Regions from separate parts of the Homo sapiens genome. Here all the other regions are linked to region 2. Evidence: promoter capture Hi-C in human tissues and cell types (Jung and others, 2019). All regions are on one chromosome and are shown on one strand. Each heading gives the region's core, a stretch centred on a gene start or on the middle of the fragment in contact. The rest is flanking DNA. Distances are from core to core; before and after follow the strand shown. Region 1 has its middle 21 kb from the start of TTR. Region 2 holds the start of B4GALT6 (beta-1,4-galactosyltransferase 6). Region 3 has its middle 8.1 kb from the start of SLC25A52.

Evidence for each region. The method cuts DNA at HindIII sites, captures the fragments that hold promoters and counts their contacts. A contact is called where the count stands out against the background at its distance.
Region 1: a contact is called between a fragment that was not itself captured here and the fragment with the promoter of B4GALT6 in region 2, in 2 of the 25 tissues and cell types used here (lymphoblastoid cells and mesendoderm cells).
Region 3: a contact is called between a fragment that was not itself captured here and the fragment with the promoter of B4GALT6 in region 2, in 2 of the 25 tissues and cell types used here (mesendoderm cells and neural progenitor cells).

Annotation. Positions count from the first base shown.
Region 1 is chr18:31,611,014-31,613,950 of GRCh38, forward strand. No RefSeq gene overlaps it. Among named protein-coding and RNA genes, the nearest start is that of TTR, 21 kb to the left of the region's middle. The HindIII fragment of the contact is 5,182 bases long and covers 1-2,937 here.
Region 2 is chr18:31,683,208-31,685,907 of GRCh38, forward strand. It overlaps B4GALT6 (beta-1,4-galactosyltransferase 6), which reads right to left and starts at 1,374. Exons shown (of 9, transcript NM_004775.5): 1 at 1,105-1,374. The coding sequence starts at 1,219. RefSeq lists a silencer at 1,471-2,510. The HindIII fragment of the contact is 7,513 bases long and covers 1-2,700 here.
Region 3 is chr18:31,751,466-31,754,191 of GRCh38, forward strand. No RefSeq gene overlaps it. Among named protein-coding and RNA genes, the nearest start is that of SLC25A52, 8.1 kb to the right of the region's middle. The HindIII fragment of the contact is 6,906 bases long and covers 1-2,726 here.

The DNA.
Region 1 (2,937 bases), core at 136-2,635, 72 kb before region 2:
TCCCTCCAGGCTCAGCAGTCACCTACCTGCTGTTGCTGCCATTACTTTCACTCCCCAGGAGGGGGAGGGTGGTGGAACTGGGTATAATGCCTGGTGTGGAAGCGCAGTAACAGGCTTCAGGAGAGAATGCTGAGACTGACCTCAGAGCCTGGGCTGCTGCCTGAAGGACTTGTGCTGAGCTCAATGAACACTACTCTTGGCTTCATTAGGAAAGTGTATTTGGAAAAGATATAGGAATATATTTCTAAGTCTCTGGAGGACAGTGCCTAGCACACAGTCCGTGCTCAATAAATATTTGAGCAGGATGGAGCAGCATTCTTGGAAGGAAGGAATGAGAGGTTTGACTCTAGGTAGGCAAATAGCTCTCATCTAAACCCTTCCTGAGCCCATGGGCTTTATGAGGGTGTTGTTTTTCCTCTTGCTCAGATGTGAGAAATGGCATCACGACCCACCAGTATATGAGAAATTGACCATTTTGTTGGGAAACACTAGAAAACTACCAGCTCTTGTGGGTAACCTTGTTCAAATATCGACTGGCAGTTTCTGCATCTGTGGATTGATTTCAACAACTTAGTTATTCGGAATATTTAAAAATAGAACCAGTCTATTTAAAGTGTCCTTCTGACTAGGGCCAGAATCAAAACAACAAGGGTTGCCTCTTTCAAAACAACAACCAAAACCTGCTAAGAAGGTGTTGATTGAGGGAGTTGAAAGACAGACACCCTCTGCTCTTCTAGGCCTCTTCACAGAGCAGCAGCGAGGGATGGGAGAACTGCCTGGATCCAGGCATTGCTAGGGTAGTTGGGGCCTGCACAGGGAATGGGGGTCCTACATGGGGATTTGGGACCCTCACAGAGAGTCAGCGCCTTGCCTGGGATTCGTCTGTAAAAAGGTAAACACAAAAAAAGGGAAATTCACAAATGCTCCATAATGGACATTATAGCTACAACACCAGCATCCATCCCATTCATTCTTCTCCCACAGAGTAGGAATGAAAATGATCTCAGCCATAGCTCCATGAGGAGGGGAGTGGGAGTGAGGAACTCATTGGTCTAAATCAGTGAAGTCTCATCATCTTTGCCATGCACTTGGTTTAGGGACGGCAGGGATCTAAAATGGCCCAATCACAGGGAAACCCAGGGCTTCTCTTTTATGAATAGATAAAAACGTGGTAAGTCCCCGGGCAAAGGCAGCCCTGGCAGGTGCTGGCAGCCATCCTAGGACTGCGAGGGGAGCCATCCTCGGGAGAGGGGGCAGTTCCAGGAAGGGAGAAAGTCAGTCTTGATGACACTGCTGAGTGGCTGAAGCACTATTTCTGGAATGTTCACCACATTAACTAAAGAGTTTCCTTTTTAAAGTGAGTTTGATTCAATTATTTCGTTATTTATGACCAAGACTGTCTTAACTGATACAGCTATAAAAATATTCATCATCTTCTCTGCGGTAAGATAAAAGGAAATACAAAGAAATCAGTAATGGATCCAAAATAGGCTTTCTCCTCACACATAATGTTAAATTGAAAGAGTCAATCCTATGATATATTGAGAATAAAATTGTCAGAATTTTTTCAACGGTAATTATTTTATTATACTCTTCTTGAAAATAATTTAATGTTAAAGAAATTAAAATTATAGTAACCCATGGTTTTGCCAAAGTAGAATTTTTTTTATTAATAGATTATAAAAAATGTTTAAAGTTGCAATCATAACTGTGAGATTATTTTTTATGCTTTAATGATTTTATCATAACCAATTTCCCATGTTTCTCGTACTCTTTACAATCATTTTCATTTTTTGAAAAAATTACCATCTTGTTTATATACTATAATTAGACCACCCCCGTAATGTGATACATACTTAGTTTCAACTTAGTTTTTTGTATTTGTAATTAGTGCTGCAATTAACAGATTTACGAAGCATAAAGCTCTTTCCTTCTGTTGAATTTGAATTATTAAGTGAATGACCTAACATTTCTAGGAGTATATAACTCCTACACTAAGCAAGGCCTTGGGTATCAAACTACTTGGGAAGAATTCTTGGCTCCATTCTCGCAAATAGTACTATCTTGTTATTGTCTTGTACAGATTACATAAGCTTTCTTTCCTTGTTTGTTTTTTCTTTTTCCATTTGTAAAATGGGAATAATCATAGCACCTACTCCAGAGAGTTACTTTAGAAACCAGTTGTCATAATACATGTCAAGGGACTTAAAACAATGTATGGTACATAATAAGCTCTCAAGAGCTCTATTACTGTTTGGAGTAATATTAGCATATGAACACATTAATATAATAAGTTCTATGGCATTACGGCCTTACCAGTGCTGCTTATTGATAATATTTTGTCATTTTAACAGACATACCATTATATCTCATAATTATCTTAACTTTCATTTAATTATTGAAGGTGGTCATTTCTCCATGTCTTTTATTTTTTGTGTGTATTGTCTATGTCCTTTAATGGACGATTTTATAAAGTATGTCTAATAGTCCAAAGGGACTGGGACTTGTTAATTTGTATAGGTATGTGTATTAGTTTCCTATTGTTACCGTAACAAGTTACCACAAATTCAGTAGCTTAAAGCAACACAAAATGGTCATCTTACACCTCTGGAGGTGTAATTTTAGACTTCTGACCAGAAGTCTAAAATTAAAGTGTTGGCAGGGCTGTGTTCATTCTGGATGCTTTAGGGAGAATCAATATCCCTGCCTTTTCCAGCTTCTAGAGGCAACTTACATTCCTTGGTTTATGACCCCTTCTTATAGGAACCCTTGTAATTATATTGGGTCACCTAAAAAATCCAAGATTATCTCCCCAGTTCATGATCCTTAATTTAATCACATATACAAAATCCCTTTAATCATGTAAGGTAACGTATTCACAGGTTCTGAGAATTCGAATGTGGACAGCTCTGAGGGGCAATTATTCAGCCTACAATG
Region 2 (2,700 bases), core at 124-2,623:
TGCAATTCACTGCAATAATCTACTACACTCAAGACAATGCCCTGATCATTCCATCTGAAAATTCTGCAGGTGTTTTCACTCTGTAAGGGGCATTACATTTTTAGCTAACTCGGAACAAAGAGCACTGGCTCAAACGACCACAGTGTGTAAGGAGAAATGAGAGGAGATGCTCACTGTTACTAAGTAATTGAACATTAAATACGTAATAGCCAGGAAAAACTCAGAAAAGTTTTGGAAATATGACATATTTTAATATGCATGTGAAGTTCATAATTCTCATTCACTAGAATTAACGCCGCATTGGCTCCTTTTCAACAAATGGGGGACGAGGAATTCGGATATTTAATAAAGAAGTTAATTCAAGCAGTTTTACAAAAGTGTATTTTGCACCAAAGGCCAAAAAATGATAAACCGGTTAACATTTTAAACTACAAGTTCCCTTAGATAACGGTTATTTTAATCACTATTTTCTCAGAAGTCATCCTAACAGGTAGCAAAGGCAACGTACCCTTGAAAATAACACCCAAGCAGACTAAAATAATGGAGCATTGTTTTTACAAGACAACTCATCGCCTTAAAATTCCCCAAGTATGGCACAAAAAGAATGGGGTCCACTGACCCCATTCTAAAAAAGCGACCTAGGACCCTAGAAAACACACATTGTTGGACTCAATCACATTCCCTGCTGCTGGCTCCTCCATATTTTTACAACCAGTTATTATACCCGAGAGTGTTTGAATAAAACTACGATTAAGCACTCAGTTTAGGCTTAAAGACTTAACATTAAATGGATAAAGCTGTCATGAACACTCAAGAAAGCGACTAGGGCATCCCGGGCCATCACACTAATTTTGCTACGTCTATTTAATGCAATCTTTTACGTTATTAACAAACATGCATTAACAAAATGCATGCATTAACAAAACTCACATACCAAAGCCATGCCCTGAAGCAGTTTGACACGTCTGAAATAACATTTAAAACAAAACGCTTTTCTGCGGGCCCCTGTTTGAACAGCTTCCAAATCCCAGAAGTAACATCGGATAACAGCCTGCGCTGGCTGTGGTGTGACCAGGGGAAGCGAGGGTGTGTCTCGGTGCTTACCGATGCCTGGGGCCACATAGATGAAGTACAGACAGGACGAAGAGAGGGAGAAGAAGAAGATGAAGGCGAGGAGAGAGCGATTGGAAACCCGCATCATCCGCCTGAGCACAGACATCTTCCTCTTCCCTGCCAGCAGCCCAGGCTGCGCTCTCAGGCCGGACTCGGGGCCACTGTCCAGGCCCTAAACTTCCATAAATGTGCTGAGAACCCCGAGACTGCAGCGGGGTCCGCGCGGGGAGGCTCTGGGGAGAGGGCCCGAGCGGAAAAGAGGAAATGGGAGGGAGCGGACGGAATGAATGGGAGGCCAGAGAGTCGGGGGAGGGGAGGCGCGGAGGCCGAGGGACAAGAGGTGGAGGGGGGAGAGGGGACTGGGGGCTAGGGGCCCGGGGACGGCAGGACGGAAGAAAGCCGGGGAAGGGCGAGGAGGAGCGTTTTCTCCGCCAAGCAGCGGCGGGAGGAGGGGCTGCAGGTGGGAGGAGGCGCAGGCTGCGCGCCGCGGCGCCCCTGCGGAGAGGGGCAGCTAACTGCAGCACGCCCGGCTCCGCTGCCCGCGCCCGGCGGGGTCCCGCCGCGAAGCCCCGTGCTTAAGGTCCGGGCCGCCCGCGTCCGCTCGGCAGGCCCTGCGCCGCCTCCTACTCCGGGCCGCGGCGTCTCCTGCCTGCGCGGGGCTAGCGTGGGCGCCGGGGCCGCAACCAGCGCGCGCCACGCGCGGGGGCCCGCGGGGGCCCTCGGGGCCGAGGAGCTGGGCGCTCGCCTGCACCGAGCCGCCTCCTCATGCCGCGCCGGGCCCCGGCGCCCCGCGGCCGCCGCGGGAGCTGAGCACAGGCCAGGGCGGCGTCCCGGCCAGCGACGAACGCGCTCCGACTCCGGCCGCCGCCAGCTGCCTGCCTGGCCGCAAGGGCGGCAGCGGCATTACCGCCGCGCGCCCGGGGTGAGGCGCCCCCGCCGGGCCCGCGGACACCAGGCGAAGAGCAACCGGGCGACGCGCGCTGCGGGCAGAGCCGGGGAGCCGGAAGAGCAGAGGCCGAGCGCCGTCGGAGCCGCGTCTGGTTGGAGAAAGAGGCGGACGTGAAGGGGCGGGGGAGCCGCGGAGGAAAACCGGGACCGGCGGGAACGTCTCGAGACCCCTGCGCGCTTCGCGCGCTCGCTCGGAACTCGGCAGGCGGCGCTGCGCCGGGCCCCGAGGAAACCTGGAGGTCCCCGCCCTCCCCGCGCCCGAAACACCGCGCGTCCTGATAGGCCCGCGCCCAGCAGCCCCCTCCCCGCGCCCGCCGCACCGGGGCCCCACCGCCTCCTGCGTCACCGCCGCCCCCGCCCGCCCGGGGACCCCGCGGTGACCGCGCTGCTGGGGGTTGAGGGACGCGTTGCGAGCCCCGGATACATTGTACCCTGGGGGTACATAATGAAGGATGCTGTACCTGAAAGGAAAAGGGCATCTCCAAAAGGGGACTTCGCGGGTGGAATTTCCTTCCAAAATCCTCGAGGAACAAGGTGTATTTCCGACCTGGATTAATGAATCCCCCCTCCTATCCCGCACTTCCTGTGGAAACAGTGTCAGGATGTGGCGCGGACCTATGTGCGTCCCTTATACCAGGA
Region 3 (2,726 bases), core at 183-2,682, 68 kb after region 2:
TTTTTAACATTCACCAATACAGACCCACAGGGGCCCTGAGTTCTTCTGGGCATGAGCTCTGAGAAAGAGACCAGAATTCCTGCTCTGATTCCTAAGATAACTGTTACAAAATCAAGAATTTGCCCGGGAGTGATGATGACCGTTAATGGGATAATGGTGGGAAGGGTACGAGCTGTAAAGAGGAAGGTGGAAGTTGATAAATGCGAACTTGGGACACAATTTGACTGAACTGTAGTGCAGATCCTTAGAAAGCAGGAGAGCACTGGTTACCTCTAGCAGGTTGCCGACGCTTCAGAAAGAACTAGGAGACAAAGCAAAGTTACTTTATAGAAATTTAATTTAACTAACTTCATGACTTTGCCTACAGCCAGCTGTAATCACATCCATTCATGTCCATGCAAAATTAAGGACATCCCAAGACTATTATCAAAAAGGTAAGAGATAGCAAGTGTTGGAGAGGACATGGAGTAACAGGAGCCCTTGCACGCCGATGGTGGAAATATTCAATTGGTACAGCCATTATGGAAAATAGCATGGAGCTTCCTCAAAAATGTAAAAATAGAACTGCCACACGATCCAGCAATTCCACTTCTGGGTGTATATCCAAAGTAAATGAAATCAGTATGTCAAAGAGAGATCTTCACTCCCATGTTCACTGAAGCATTATTCACAATAGCCAAGATATGGAATCAACCTAAGTGTCCATCAGCAGATGAATAATGTGGTATATATACACAATGGAATACTATTCAACCTCAAAAAAGAAGCAAATTCTGTCGTTTGGGACAACATAAGTGACCCTGGAAGACATTATGATAAGTGAAATAGGCCAAGCACAGAAAGGCAAGTTCCGCATGATCTCACTTATATGTAGAATCTAAAAAGCTGAGCTCATAGAAACAAAGAGTAGAATAGTGGCTACTGAGGCTGAGGTTGAGGGTTTGGGGGAGATGTTGGCTTAAGGACACGAAATTTAAGTTAGACAGGAGGAATAAGTTCAGAAGACTATCATACAACATGGCAATTATATGGTTGACTGTTGAACAACTTGCGGGTTGGGGCACCAACCCCACATGCAGTCAAACATCCATGTATAAATTTTGACTCTTCAAAAACGTAACTACTAATATCTCACTGTTGACCAGAAGCCTTGCCCATGACAAAAGGTTGATTAACACATATTTTGTATGTTACATGTGTGATATACTATATTCTTAAATAAAGTAAGCTAGAGAAAAGAAAATGTTATTAAGAATATTATAAGGAAGAAATGGAAGGGGATCATCATAAAGGTCTGTATCTTCCTCATTTTCATGTTGAGAAGGCTGAGAAGGAGGAGGAAGAGGAGGGGTTGGTCTTGCTGTCTCAGGGGTGACACAGGCAGAAGAAAATCTGCATGTAAGTGGACCCACACAGTTCGAACCTGTGTTGTTCAAGGGTGAACTGTAGTAATAACAATGTATTGTGTACTTGGAAATTGCTAAGAGAGAACATAAGTATTCCCACCACAAAAAATGATAAATGTGAGGTGATGAATATATTAATTAGTTTGATTTAATTATTTCACAATGTATATATCAAAATATCATGTTGCACATCATAAATGTATACAATTTTTATTTGTAAAGTAAAAAAAGTAAAAATAAATTTTAAAAAAAGAAGTTAAACACATTCAGCAAGTAATGATATTCTGTAAGATGGGGCTAAGTATTTCTTCGCATTTAAAAGGAGGATTCTCTGCAAAAAGCAAATGATAAATACAGGCAGTCCTTAAATACACATAATTACCAAAAATATACAATAAATTAGGAAATATTTATTTGCTCTGTTGAACTCCCTAAACTATCAATATTTAATAAATCAAAGCTAAATTTATTAGAACTTTCTGCCAAGAAAGAATACATCCTTGACAGTCTTGGCAGCACCTCACAAGGGGAATCAGAAATAGAATACTTATAGGGCACTGAGGTCTGAGTTCAAGTGTTTTAAAACAGGCCGTTCAAGGAATGTATATATTCTCTCCCTTGAAAGACCTGTTTTATATATAGAGAAATATATATATATTTCTATAATGTATCAATACAAATTACATGTACAATATATAAAAATTGTTTATATATTATACATACAATTACATATTTAATGATACATAAAAATGTTTATATGTAAATATATGTTTTACATAGTAGTTTAAGTTGGCAGTCACGGCAAAGCAAGGGTCTTGAATAGGTAAACTGTGGCTAAAAAGCAAGGGTTTGCCCAGATAAGCAACGTATTGTCTCCAATAAATTGGTCTGTGAATTTTGGAATTCAATGTATTGTCTCCAATTAATTGGTCTTGGCATTTCCTGAAGCACAGAGTAAAAGTACTTATTGGTGTGCAACCTTATATTTTCTGAATAGGTGTTGTCGGGAACAAAAAAAGTCATGTTCACATGGGTAGTTTTCTTAGTCCATTTTTTCTTGCTATAACAGAATTCCACAGACTGGGTAAACTATAAAGAAGAGATATTTATTTCTTACAGTTCTGGAGGCTGGGAAGGCCAGGGTTCAGGGGTTGCATCTGGTGAGGGCCTTCATGCTGATGGCAACTCTCTGCAGAGTCCCAAGGTGGCACAGGCCATCATATGGTGAGGAAGTAAGAGTGTGCCAGCTCAGGTCTCTCTTCCTCTTCTTATAAAGCCACCAGCCCCATCATGGATGCTTCTTCCTGATGGCCTTATCTA